Linked DNA regions of Homo sapiens: all the other regions are linked to region 1. Evidence: promoter capture Hi-C in human tissues and cell types (Jung and others, 2019). All regions are on one chromosome and are shown on one strand. The core of a region is centred on a gene start or on the middle of the fragment in contact, and the rest is flanking DNA. Distances in the headings are between cores, read along the strand shown. Region 1 holds the start of SPNS2 (SPNS lysolipid transporter 2, sphingosine-1-phosphate). Region 2 overlaps ANKFY1 (ankyrin repeat and FYVE domain containing 1). Region 3 overlaps ANKFY1 (ankyrin repeat and FYVE domain containing 1).

Region 1 (3,769 bases), core at 1,270-3,769:
TGCTGACAATCTGACTCAGAGACCTGAGTAGAAGTGGGAGCAGATAAGTGCCAGCCCTCCCTGATCCCACCCTCTCTGGCTCTGCCCCTGGCAGAGGCAGTTCCCCTAAGAACGTCAAAGGGGGTGGTCTGGGGCCAGAAAAAAAACAAGTTGGAGAGCGCTACAGTGCCAGAAGTAGTACCATTCCTTCTTCAGCTGAGAAAGGGTGGGAAGACCTCCTCCCAGGCAGAGCCTTACTGTTAGAGCTAACACCAGCTTTGCCAGTCACTTTCCTGGCCATCTTGAACGGGGGCTGTACAGGGACATTGGTCCCCCTATCTGTGTACAGAAGCCTTTTGTGAACTGACTACAGGTCCCAGGTATTCTCTGATTTCTCCCCCAAAGGATGGCGCTTATGCTCCCAGGTCCCCGGCAGCATGGTGCATGCGTGACAGCGGCTGGCGTTTTTGGGAGGTGCTCAATATTCCTGCTCTCTAGACCAAAGTAAGTTTCTCTTTGGGATAGCTCGACCCAGAAACTGATGCCACTGGTACCCACTTCCAATTTCCTCCAGCGGAAGGACAGAGAGCCAAGGGGGGTTGAAAGCAGGAATGGGGGGAGGGGGAAGCCTCTGCCCTCCCATCAGAATTCTTCCCTTCCATTTGACACAAAACTCCATTCAACAGACGGGGAGACTGAGGCCCAGAGAAGGCACCAGGTGGCATGTGGTTTATGCCCGGGCTCTCTTCCCTCAATTGCCGCAAAGTTCTCTTTAGAGTCTGTCCAAAAATAAATCCTTCCCTCTCTCCTATCTCCTCTCTCTCTCTGTTGTGTGTGTGTTTGATAGCTCCAGATTTTACTAAGCTATAGTTACGCAGGTTCTGGGCCAGCATGCCAGGCACACAGTACTGCTCTCCTCCTGCAGGGAGCCCCTTCCTATGCCAGTCTGGCCAAAGTCCTTCCCTCTCAAAGCTCCACCATTCCCAACCAGTAGCAGCTCAGTCTAGGGCAAATTCTTACCCCTAGACCCACCCCTAATTGCTGGGGAAGGGAGCCAGCAGAAGGCAATTCCAGAACCACGTGCGTCCCCCAAAGGCCCAATGATCAATCAACTCACAAACGGGCAAACAGACCTAAACACACGCTGAGACTGGCCCAAGGTCACACACCAAGCACATTAGGAGCAAAGCTGGGGCTAGAACCCAGTTGTTCTATCGATCCCAATCCCGTCCCCAAGGCTGATTCCCAGAGATGCTCCCTGAGGATGAGGCTCCACGTCTCTAGCTCCAGAGGCCTGCGCCCTACCCTACACCCCAAGCACCATAGAGCAGGGGGAGGCGTCTCCAGGCCTCTGTACAGGGCCAGCTGCAAACCGCAGCCTGGGTCCCCAGGCGCCGCGGACCCGCCCCGCCCCTCCCTCCGCTCCCCGCAGCCCGGAGCCTTTGTCAGCCACGCGCTCACACACAACCGCGCCGCCACGCGCACACACACCCGGTCTCCCTAGCGCACACCCGCAAGGGGCGCGCGCACTCGCCGCACGCACGCAGGGGGGTGGAGGCGGCGGAGAAAGGAAGGAACTGACGGGCCATGGACGGACAGACGACCTGGGCTGGGGGAAGGGAAGGGAAGGAGGCCCGGGAACCGGCAGCTGGGGTCGGAGGGGGCGCAGAGACAAGGAGACAGAGAGACGCAGAGGAGACTCTTGGAGAGGAGGACAACGGATGGGCCGTCAAGGGCTGGAGAGGACGCGCGGGCTGCTCCAGGGGTGGGGACTCCTCTATCCCTTGGCCCCGGGTGTGTATGAGCGGGGAGCTGGATTGTACCCGTGGTGCACGGAGGCATCCCTTGCCCAGTTGTGCCTGAGCAGAGGGTCCGTAGGGACCTCACGTAGGGCCTGGAGATAGCAGGCCTGAGACCAAAAGCTCTCTGGGGTACCTCCCTCGAGGCGGGTGGTGGGATGGGGTGGGGTCTTGGTCCTCGGGCTGGGTGGGGCACTCGCTCACCTGCCACGGTGTACCTGTCCAGGTAGTTGAGCACGTTGCCCAAGCTGAGGATGGCGGCGGCTGCCCCCCGCCCGCGGCCCAAGCTGGCCGGTTTGGGCTGCTGAGCGCCGGGGCCCTTTGCAGTAGCTGCGCAGCCGGGGGTGCCGGGGGTGCCGGGGGGTCCGGTCGGGGCCCGCCTTACGCTGCCCGACAGCGTCTGCACCTCATCGCCCGCGGCCGAGACTCCAGCGCCGCCCGCGCCCCGCGCCCCGCAGCAACCGCTACCGCCAGCCCCTCGCTGCGCCCCCCGGCGCCGGCGCCGCCGCTCCGCGTCCGCCTCCTCCTCCTCCGCGCCGCCCGCCGCCGCCGAGGCGCATTCCAGGCACATCATGCCGGCCCGGATCGGGGCGGCGGGGGGCGCGGGGGGCGCGGGGCCCAGGCTGGGCCCGCTCAGCGCGTGCGTGCGCCGCGGAGCCGCCACTGCACCATCCTGGTCGGGCCCCGTCGGCTCCTGCGCTCCGGCCCCGGCTGCGGCGCTGCCACCGCTCAGCTCGCTGCGCCTCGTTCGCCGCCGCGGCTCTGACAGCTGCGGCCCGGCCCCGCCCACCAGGCCCGCGCCCAATCAGCTCCGGGCTCGGGCCACAGCCCCGCCCCGCACGTGCTGCCCTGGGGGTGGGGGGCCCGGGGACTGGGGGCCCGGGCGGCAGAGCCCCTCCTGCCAATGGGGGCGCAGTCACGCCGGGGCCGACCGGCCGCGAACGCCCGCGGGGAGCGGGAGAGGGTTTGCTCTGGCTACGGAGCTGGGAGCAGGGTGCTGGTGACGGGGCTCCCAGCACCTACTCAGTACCCTTCACCCAACCCCTGCCTCGGGCGTGGACTCCCGGCGGAGGCTCTGGGAGCCGGGCTGAGGGCTTGAGCCTAGCGTATCTGGGAGAACTGGAGAGAGGAGTCTCAGATGGCTAAAGTCAGGGGCGCCAGTTGGAGAGCCGGTGGCTCCTCCGATACTCACACGCCCGGATTTAACCAGTTCAGGGAGGGCCCAGAACCTAGACCTCCACCAGTCATGGTGGGCTGTGTCTCCCACCTCCCCAGGGCAACCCAGATCCAGCCCCCAACCTACCCCGGGCCCATTCCTGTGTGGGCACCCGGACCCTACCCTTGCCCCACAGAGTGGCCCGCAGCCCCTGGCGGGGAGAGCAAGGGCTGTGATTGGGGCCCAACAGAAACAGGATATTCAGAAGGGGCTTTCCCTCCTGAGGGACCACATCTCCAAGCTTCAGACTTCCAGGTATGTGCTAGAGAGGGTACAAAGCCCCCAGTGGCAGACAGGAGGCTGGGTCCTAGCTCAGCTCTGCCCTGGTGTGTGGCATGATCCTGAACATGACACCCACTCTCTGGGCCTCCATTTCTGTATCTGGGGGCAGATGGCAGGATGGGATTCAGTCTGGAAATCCACGGGTGGTCACCTCCCCTTGGTGGGACGGGGCGGGGGTCTGCCTCCTATGGAGAGTGGTTGGGGTGCTTCTGTGTTCCTGACATCCCATCACGGTTTCACCCCTCCTTAGAGGTGCTGTGGCTCTGTGACGATCTCCCCCTTCCCTCCCCCATTCACCTGTTTGGGGAATTAAAATCGAAATTAAAATCCTGTATAAAGTGCAGAGGACAGAATGTTAGAACTGGACAAACCCTCGGAAACCAGTTAATCATTCCCTGTGTTTCACAGACAAGTCCCAGGGCACGGACGTGACCCATTACGAACAGGCAGTGAAGCTGTGGCAGGGCTGGAGCTGCCCCAGGCTCTGGCATCA
Region 2 (3,769 bases), core at 817-3,316, 290 kb after region 1:
GCTGCTATAATAAATTACCATAAACTTAATGGCTTAAAACAACACAAATGTATTGCCTTACAGTTTTGTAGGTTGGAAGTCTAGGACAGGAATCACTGGCCCAAAATCAGGATGTCGGCAGGCTGTGCTTCTTTCCAGAGACTCAAGAGGAGAATCCATTTCCTGCTTATTTGGATCTTTGGCAGAATTCAGATTCTTGCACTTACAGGATCGAGGTCCCCATTTTCTTGCTGGCTGTCAGCCGAGGGCCATTCCCACCTTCTAGAGCCCTCCACACATTCCTTAGCTCATAGCCCCCGGCTTTTGTCTTAAAAGCCAGCAGTGGTGGGTCAGGTGCTTCTCATGTCACATCTCTCTGACTTACTCTTCTGGTTCCCTTTTTCACTTTGAAGGACTTGTGTGGTTAGATAGATCGGGCCCTCTGTGGTTAGATAGATCGGGCCCTCTGTGGTTAGATAGATCGGGCCCTCTGTGGTTAGACGGGTCGGGCCCTCTGTGGTTAGATGGGTCGGGCCCTCTGTGGTTAGATAGGTCGGGCCTCCTGGATAATCTGGGATACTGTCCCCATCACAAGGTCCTTAATCACATCCTCAAAGTGCCTTTTGCCATGTAACGTGGTATGTTTATAGGTTCTGGGGATTAGGACATGTCCGTCTTTGGGGGGGGTGATAATTCTGCCCACCATATGACCTTGAAAGAAATGTAATGGCTCTTGACAGATGGGAGCGAAGTATGTTTTATCCCGGGTGTCCAGTGTATGGGGAGACATTAAACTGCTGGGAAGAATGAAATAGGAACGCCACTGCCTTTCATGAAAACATTAGCTGTTCACCGTAAAACTCTCTGAGCCTCTGCCTGGCACTCGTGCCCCACAGCACTCTGTCCACATTTTCCTGGTGGCCTTTAATCGTCTCCCACATTGTTTATGTTGGCTATGTGGTCCCCATTAATTCTGTACTCCCTGAAAACATGTACCCTGAGGAAGCCTGATAGAAGTTTGTGAATAAAGTTGAATTTGGGGAGTAAGCAGTGTTGGAGCACTTAAATTTGACATTTGTATAAGAGATGATATTTAAGGGTCAAGGTGGGAGAAATTAAAATAGGTCGTATTCTCTACTCACTGGGCGCTAATTTACAAACTTGTTTGTGTAGCTCCCTGGGAAGCTGAATGAAGCGGATCATAACGGAGATCTGGCATTAGATCTAGCCCTCTCACGACGACTGGAGAGTATTGCCACCACGCTGGTTAGTCACAAAGCTGATGTGGACATGGTGGACAAGAGTGGCTGGAGCTTGTTACACAAAGGAATCCAAAGAGGTAGGAAGAAGTGTGTATGTTTCCCTGCAGGCAATTTTATTTTTATCCGAGTAATTTTTGAAGACTTTCTGACCTTGTTCCCAAAATTCTCAAAGGCTTCTGTAGTCTGTACTCACAGGCTACATGATCTAGAATTTGATCATTGGGTCAGAGGAAGCACTCAAGAGCTGTTGCCTATGCCGTGTTAGTTTGGCCATTCACCGTGCCAACAGGGCCCCAGAAAGAAAGGCTACAAAGATGGTACTTGTGTGAAGAAGTACCTTTTACTTGTAAGCACTTGATATGTTTGCTTGTTCAATGGATGGCTTTCTCCAGGAATTGTGCTAGGAAGGTTTTGCTTTTGTATTCTACCACAGATACAAGGATAGTAGCAAAACCATAAACCTTGAAACGTGTTCTTAGCTTCAGGGTTTTCACTTTAACAGGCTAGGCCTCTATTATGATAAATTGATAGAGTTTCATTTTGTTCTAGCAGAGTTATTTGAAATTGTAGCTATATTTTGAATGCATTGTTAATAGTTGGAAGAATACAGAAATGATAGACTTGAGAACAAAACATTTAAATCTTTTTTTTTTTTTGAGACGGAGTCTTGTTCTGTCGCCCAGGCTGGAGTGCAGTGGTGCGATCTTGGCTCACGGCAAGCTCCGCCTCCTGGGTTCATGCCATTCTCCTGCCTCAGCCTCCCCAGTAGCTGGGACTACAGGTGCCCACCACCACGCCCAGCTAATTTTTTGTATTTTTAGTAGAGACGGGGTGTCACCGTGTTAGCCAGGATGGTCTCGATCTCCTGACCTGGTGATCCACCCACCTTGGCCTCCCAAAGTGCTGGGATTAGAGGCGTGAGCCACCGCGTCCTCCCAGAACATTTTAATCTTAATGAATTAACTTGTCAAAGGAAAAAAAAAATACTAGGTTTTTGTTTGTTTTTTTCCATAGTCTTACTAATTCATGAGTCCCAAATGGATCTGGGCTGATTTTGCTTTGCAATGGTCATTTTAGACAGAGTGAAATCTGTATAGAGGTAGAGTTCCAGTGAGAAATGAAAGCTTTCCAAAGTGTCAAAGCGTTAGTTTTGTGGAGGGATGGTTGACTTGATTGAAGTGCATTGCCATGGCCACTTTTTTTTACTTACACGTAGACATCAAAGAGAGAATCTACTTGTTTCGTTCCATCTTAATCATCTATATTTTCCCCTTTTGATGATGCATTGTTATACTATTATTGTCTGTGCTACATTTTTGCCATTCACAAATTGCTCCTAGTTGGTGGAATGTAGTTACATCAAGATGTGGTCCTGTGCCAGCTTTGTCCTTTTTGGGCCAAGGTTTTAATACAAGTATCCTTATAAGCCATGTGCTGGAGTGCTGAGCTTGCTGGCTGGTAGAGAGGAAAATTTTGCTCATCACTGGGTAGGAAATCCTTCGAGTATGTCAGTGTCAAGAGCAGATGCATCTTCCTCAAGCACCGTTATGTGCTGTGCAAAGCCAGCGGGTGCTTAGCACTGAGTGTGATTCAGTGGGGAAATCTCCACCACGTAGGGAATGATTCTTTCCCACACTGTTTCGTGTCTGAGATGTTTATTTTGGAAACAGATACCCTGTTACTAAAAAAAAAAAATCTGAGAATTTTGTTTCTTTCCTCCCAGGGAGTTAATTCTTATGTTTGATGATAAATCATCTTTGAGTTATTAAATATTTTGGTGATTGCTTAGATACAAGAATTGCCAAGAATTAGTGATACATTTTTGATGTTTATTTTCAGATGATTTAACCTTCCACTCTGAGTTTATTAATTGCTTGCAAGTATGTGGATTACAGCGTGGGTATAATAAACTTGATTTTGCTAACTTTAGAGTGTTGCATATTACGGTAGACAGAGCACTGGCTTTATGAAGCTGGTATTCACCAAGGTTTGAATCTGAGCTCATCTGTTTACTCTGTGGCCTTGGACAAGTCACATTCTACGTCTTCCTTATCCATAAAGTGGGAATTACTTTTGCTTTATTGGTTTGTTCAGAGAATGCGAGGCAATGTTAGTAGTACACCCAGCAGTGATTACCAGGGGAATGGTGGGGTCAACCCTGCCATTCATCGCTTGCCCCTGCGTTGGAAATGCCATAACCAGGTCCAGTTCCTGTAGGAGTTTTTTTCACTTTAACTGTTAAAGAGTGAAAGTCTTTAATATATGAGATTTTGGTTTAGTCTGAGCACACATTAGAATCTGTCAACAAAATAGTCAGTGATCATCCTAATAACCAAGTATACCAGTCATTTTATCTAAAGAGTGGAACAGGCAGGCAGTGTCTTGGGGGAGTCCACAGGGGGCACATGTTTGGCCAGAGGGATGCCATCTCCTTGGATTAGCCTGATCTGAGCAAGAAGATGAGTCTTCACTTTATAAAAACAGTTCTTCCTGAACTTTTTTACCTTAATAACCAACATCAGTTGATG
Region 3 (3,769 bases), core at 829-3,328, 270 kb after region 1:
ACTATAAGCGCATGCCACCACACTTGACTAATTAAAAAAAATGTTTTTTTGTAGAGACAGGGTCTCACTGTGTTGCCCTGGCTGGTCTCAAACTCTTAGCCTCAAATTATCTTCCCACCTCGGCCTCCCAAAGCTCTGGATTCACAGGCGATATCCACTATGCATAGCCTAGTTCTATCAATTCCTTAAAGGAGAGTGGTAACATCTATAATTTTAGAATTGTCTAGTTCTCCTTTTAATTTTTGTCAGTTTTTCTGCATATAATTTTTAGCCTCTATTATGTACATTTACATTTATAATTATGACTTCCTAAGGAATTGTTGCTTTTATCATTTTAAAATAATTTTTGCCAAGTTCAGTGGCTCACGCCTGTAATCCCACACTTGGAGTGGCTGAGGCAAGCGGATCCCTTGAGCCTAGGAGTTTGAGACCAGCCTGGGCAACATGGCAAAACCCCATCTCTTCCAAAAATGCAAAAAAATTAGCCAGGTGTGGTGGCACTCACCTGTGGTCCCAGTTACTTAGAAGGTTGAGGTGGGAGGATCACTTAGCCTGCAAGGCAGAGGTTGCAGTGAACTGAGATCACGCCACTGCAGTCCACCTTGGGTGACAGTGAGACCCTGTCTCAAAAAAAAATTATATAAATATATATATACACACACACCGAAGCCATAGGAGAGGAACAAAACGGGGAAACTCATCCAGTGCAGTTGCTGCTTCAAGTTTCGCCTCCCTCTCAGTTCAGCTGCTTTTGTTGACTTTTCCAAATCTTTAGGTCGTTGTTGTTTTGTACTCTGTCCAGAATTTTTAGCTATAATCAGTTAAAATGGGATGGGTTGTTCCACTGCCATAACAGAACTAGAACCTCTGTCCTTTTATTTCATTTTGACCCAGAGATTATTTAGAAATATGGTTTGAGGTTTAATTTTATTTCCAGGAGGTTATATTTAAGGATACATCCTTAAATTGACTAAAGAGGATGTTATTTATTGATAAAAATGATACTGTCTACCAAGATTTTTTAATTCTATGAAGCAAAAACTTTTCTTTTTGAGACAGAATCTCGCTCTGTCCCCCAGGCTAGAGTGCACTGATGTGATCTTGGGTCACTGCAACCTCTGCCTCCCGGCTTCAAGAGATTCTCCTACCTCAGCCTCCCGAGTAGCTGGGATTACAGGCATGCACCACTACGCTCGGCTACTTTTTGTAATTTTAGTAGAGAGGGGGTTTTGCCATAATTGGCCAGGCTGGTTTCAAACTCCTGACCTCAAGTGATCCGCCTGCCTCGGCCTCCCAGAGTTCTGGGATTACAGGTGTGAGCCACCACACCCAGCCTAAAAAGTTTTTTTTTTTAAATATAAAACAAATCCTTTAATTTTTCAAGTGTTTAAAAAAACAAGTTTATACTTAAGCCAGCCTTGAAGATAAGCACAAAATTTACCAGTTTATTTAAAAAAAAAAAAAAAACGACAACTCAAGCACCCACTCTGTGCATAGCACTATTCTAGGTGCAATAAACGGGAATCTTAACCTTAGAAATATGAGTCCACTTTCTGGAATTGTATTGTCTCCTTTTCCAGAGAGTAAAAATAAATAAAATCACCATTATTTACTACAGATCTGCCTCAAACCACTTCTGGTTCACAGAAAAGCTAATTTCCACCAAATTAAAGATGCAATGAACTCAGTTCCTGCTTTCCCAAAAACACGAAAGCAGAATTCCTTTTCACTAAAAAAAAACAAACAAACAGTTTTCCATGCAAGGGCAGTTTGCTTCTAATAAGTATTAAAAAAAATTTTTTTTCCTCTAGCTTTTCTTTAAATTTTCTTCCTCTCATATTGCCTTTTCTTGTACAAGACAAACCAGGTATCTTTTTATGCTGTTTTTCCTTTCCTAAGAAAAGTATTGCATCTTGAAGACAGGCCATTTCCAAGAGTAGTGATAAAAAATAACATTAAAAAAACTTCACCATCCTGGCTAACGCAGTGAAACCCCGTCTCTACTAAAAATACAAAAAATTAGTCGGGCGTGGTGGTGCGCACCTGTAGTCCCAGCTTCTCAGGAGGCTGAGGCGGGAGAATGGCGTGAACCCCGGGGGCAGAGCCTGCAGTGAGCCGAGATCGCGCCACTGCACTCCAGCCTGGGCGACAGCGAGACTCCGTCTCAAAAAAAAAAAAAAAAAAAAAAAAAAAACTTCAAAGGTGAGTCACTTACATCACCTTGATGAAGTAAAAAAAATAAAAAGCAGTTGGCACTAAGATAGCTACTTCCAAATATCTGTGTCTGAACAATTTTAAAAACTGTTCATTTTGTAACAATGTACCTCTAGTCCAAGGTAACTATGTTTTAAAAAATTTTGGCCAAAAAATTTACAAAAACCCTTTCAGTTCAACCTAATAAAAGTGATATCTAGAAAATATGCCACATTATTAAGTCTGTCTTAAAAAGTTCAGATTCTAAAGCATTGCTGAGGCACAGTGTTCTGGAAGACAAATGTGCTTCTGTTGGCGTGGTGTTAGATACAAAGCATCCATGACAGGCACCTTTCTCCTGATGCTGTGGGATTGCGAGAGAAGAGTCAGACGTAGGCCCCCAGGCCTGCATGAAACTGTGAGACACTGTACCAGCTGCTGAAACTTGGGCCTCTCCCCCGGATCTAAGGCCCAGCAACAGGCCATCACAGCAAATGGTTCATCAGGACAGTTGATTGGCTGGGCTATTCGGTAACCATCTTTCAGGTATGCGGCCATCTCGAAGGGGTCAGTGTCCATGTAGGGCGTCTGGCCCAGAGTCATGAGTTCCCACAGCATCACTCCAAAGGCCCCACACATCACTAGTGCTAGAAAACTCGTTATTAACCAGACTTTCAAGAGCCATCCAACAAACTGGCCTGTTTTCATTGTCCCCCAGACAGTGATAGTCCATGAGACGGCATTGTCTGTGATCTTAACTTGAAGTGTGTCATCAGTGATACAGTTCCTAGCAGCCAGGTCTTTGTGGATGACTTCCGTTCTGGCCAGGTAGCTCATTCCACAGGCAATCTGAATAGCCATGTGTACCAGGTCTTGTTGAGAAATTGCCTGTGGATTATTGGCCTCTACTAACTTGCACTGCCGTAAAAACAAGTGAAGATTCCCTCAGTTCATGTAAGGCAGTGTCACCATGGGCTTTTCTCGTATACACCCATGAGTAATAGGAAGAAGATTTCTGTGATGAAGACTTTGCAGCTTACGACTTTCAGTGAGCATCATTGTCACCTGAATTTCAGAAGCTTGATCTTTGTTTCGACCAATGCTTGTTTTTCTTTATTTGGATCTTTTTTATCTATTAAAATCCCATGGAAAATATGCCCAAGAGTACCTTCTTGGAGTACATCTTTTATTAGAGTTATCCTGTCCCTGGATATTGCTATATCCTTCACCTTGGCTTTGGCCTCCAAAAGAGTGACACTTCTCAAGTCGTTCTTCTCTATCCGCAAGGTAGGATAACCTGAGGAGCTGGTGATAGGAGTTGGATTGTTGGGTGTGTCAGCTCTCGGATACTGAGTCGTCTGGGTGGATGGCTGAGACAACCCTTGGGAACTCCTGCTGGCACTAATGCTGTCATCCAGTTCAACCCTTTTCATACTATGAAGGTGCAAAACAGCTAATATTATTGCTACGAGAAATATTACTGCACAAGAAACCCTACCCTAATATAAAACACGCGTAGAAGTGGTTGGAGCTGCGTGTCAGGGCCATTTTTGGTGCACATTTTCCTTGGTTTAAA

The links. The method cuts DNA at HindIII sites, captures the fragments that hold promoters and counts their contacts. A contact is called where the count stands out against the background at its distance.
Region 2: a contact is called between a fragment that was not itself captured here and the fragment with the promoter of SPNS2 in region 1, in 5 of the 25 tissues and cell types used here (adrenal gland, dorsolateral prefrontal cortex, heart right ventricle and 2 more).
Region 3: a contact is called between a fragment that was not itself captured here and the fragment with the promoter of SPNS2 in region 1, in 3 of the 25 tissues and cell types used here (dorsolateral prefrontal cortex, mesenchymal stem cells and spleen).

Annotation. Positions count from the first base shown.
Region 1 is chr17:4,497,631-4,501,399 of GRCh38, reverse strand. It overlaps SPNS2 (SPNS lysolipid transporter 2, sphingosine-1-phosphate), which reads right to left and starts at 2,519. Exons shown (of 13, transcript NM_001124758.3): 1 at 1,983-2,519. The coding sequence starts at 2,352. SPNS2-AS1 (SPNS2 antisense RNA 1) reads left to right here and starts at 2,665. Exons shown (of 3, transcript XR_001752763.2): 1 at 2,665-3,249; 2 at 3,685-3,769. RefSeq lists enhancers at 1,085-1,719, 1,720-2,355 and silencers at 2,397-2,446, 2,507-2,656, 2,667-2,726. The HindIII fragment of the contact is 11,191 bases long and covers 1-3,541 here.
Region 2 is chr17:4,203,870-4,207,638 of GRCh38, reverse strand. ANKFY1 (ankyrin repeat and FYVE domain containing 1) reads left to right here. Exons shown (of 25, transcript NM_001330063.2): 7 at 1,153-1,318. Among named protein-coding and RNA genes, the nearest start is that of ANKFY1, 58 kb to the left of the region's middle. RefSeq lists a silencer at 389-589. The HindIII fragment of the contact is 7,321 bases long and covers 1-3,769 here.
Region 3 is chr17:4,222,640-4,226,408 of GRCh38, reverse strand. The region is part of intron 3 of ANKFY1 (ankyrin repeat and FYVE domain containing 1); the gene reads left to right. It also overlaps the pseudogene RYKP1. Among named protein-coding and RNA genes, the nearest start is that of ANKFY1, 39 kb to the left of the region's middle. The HindIII fragment of the contact is 4,884 bases long and covers 1-3,769 here.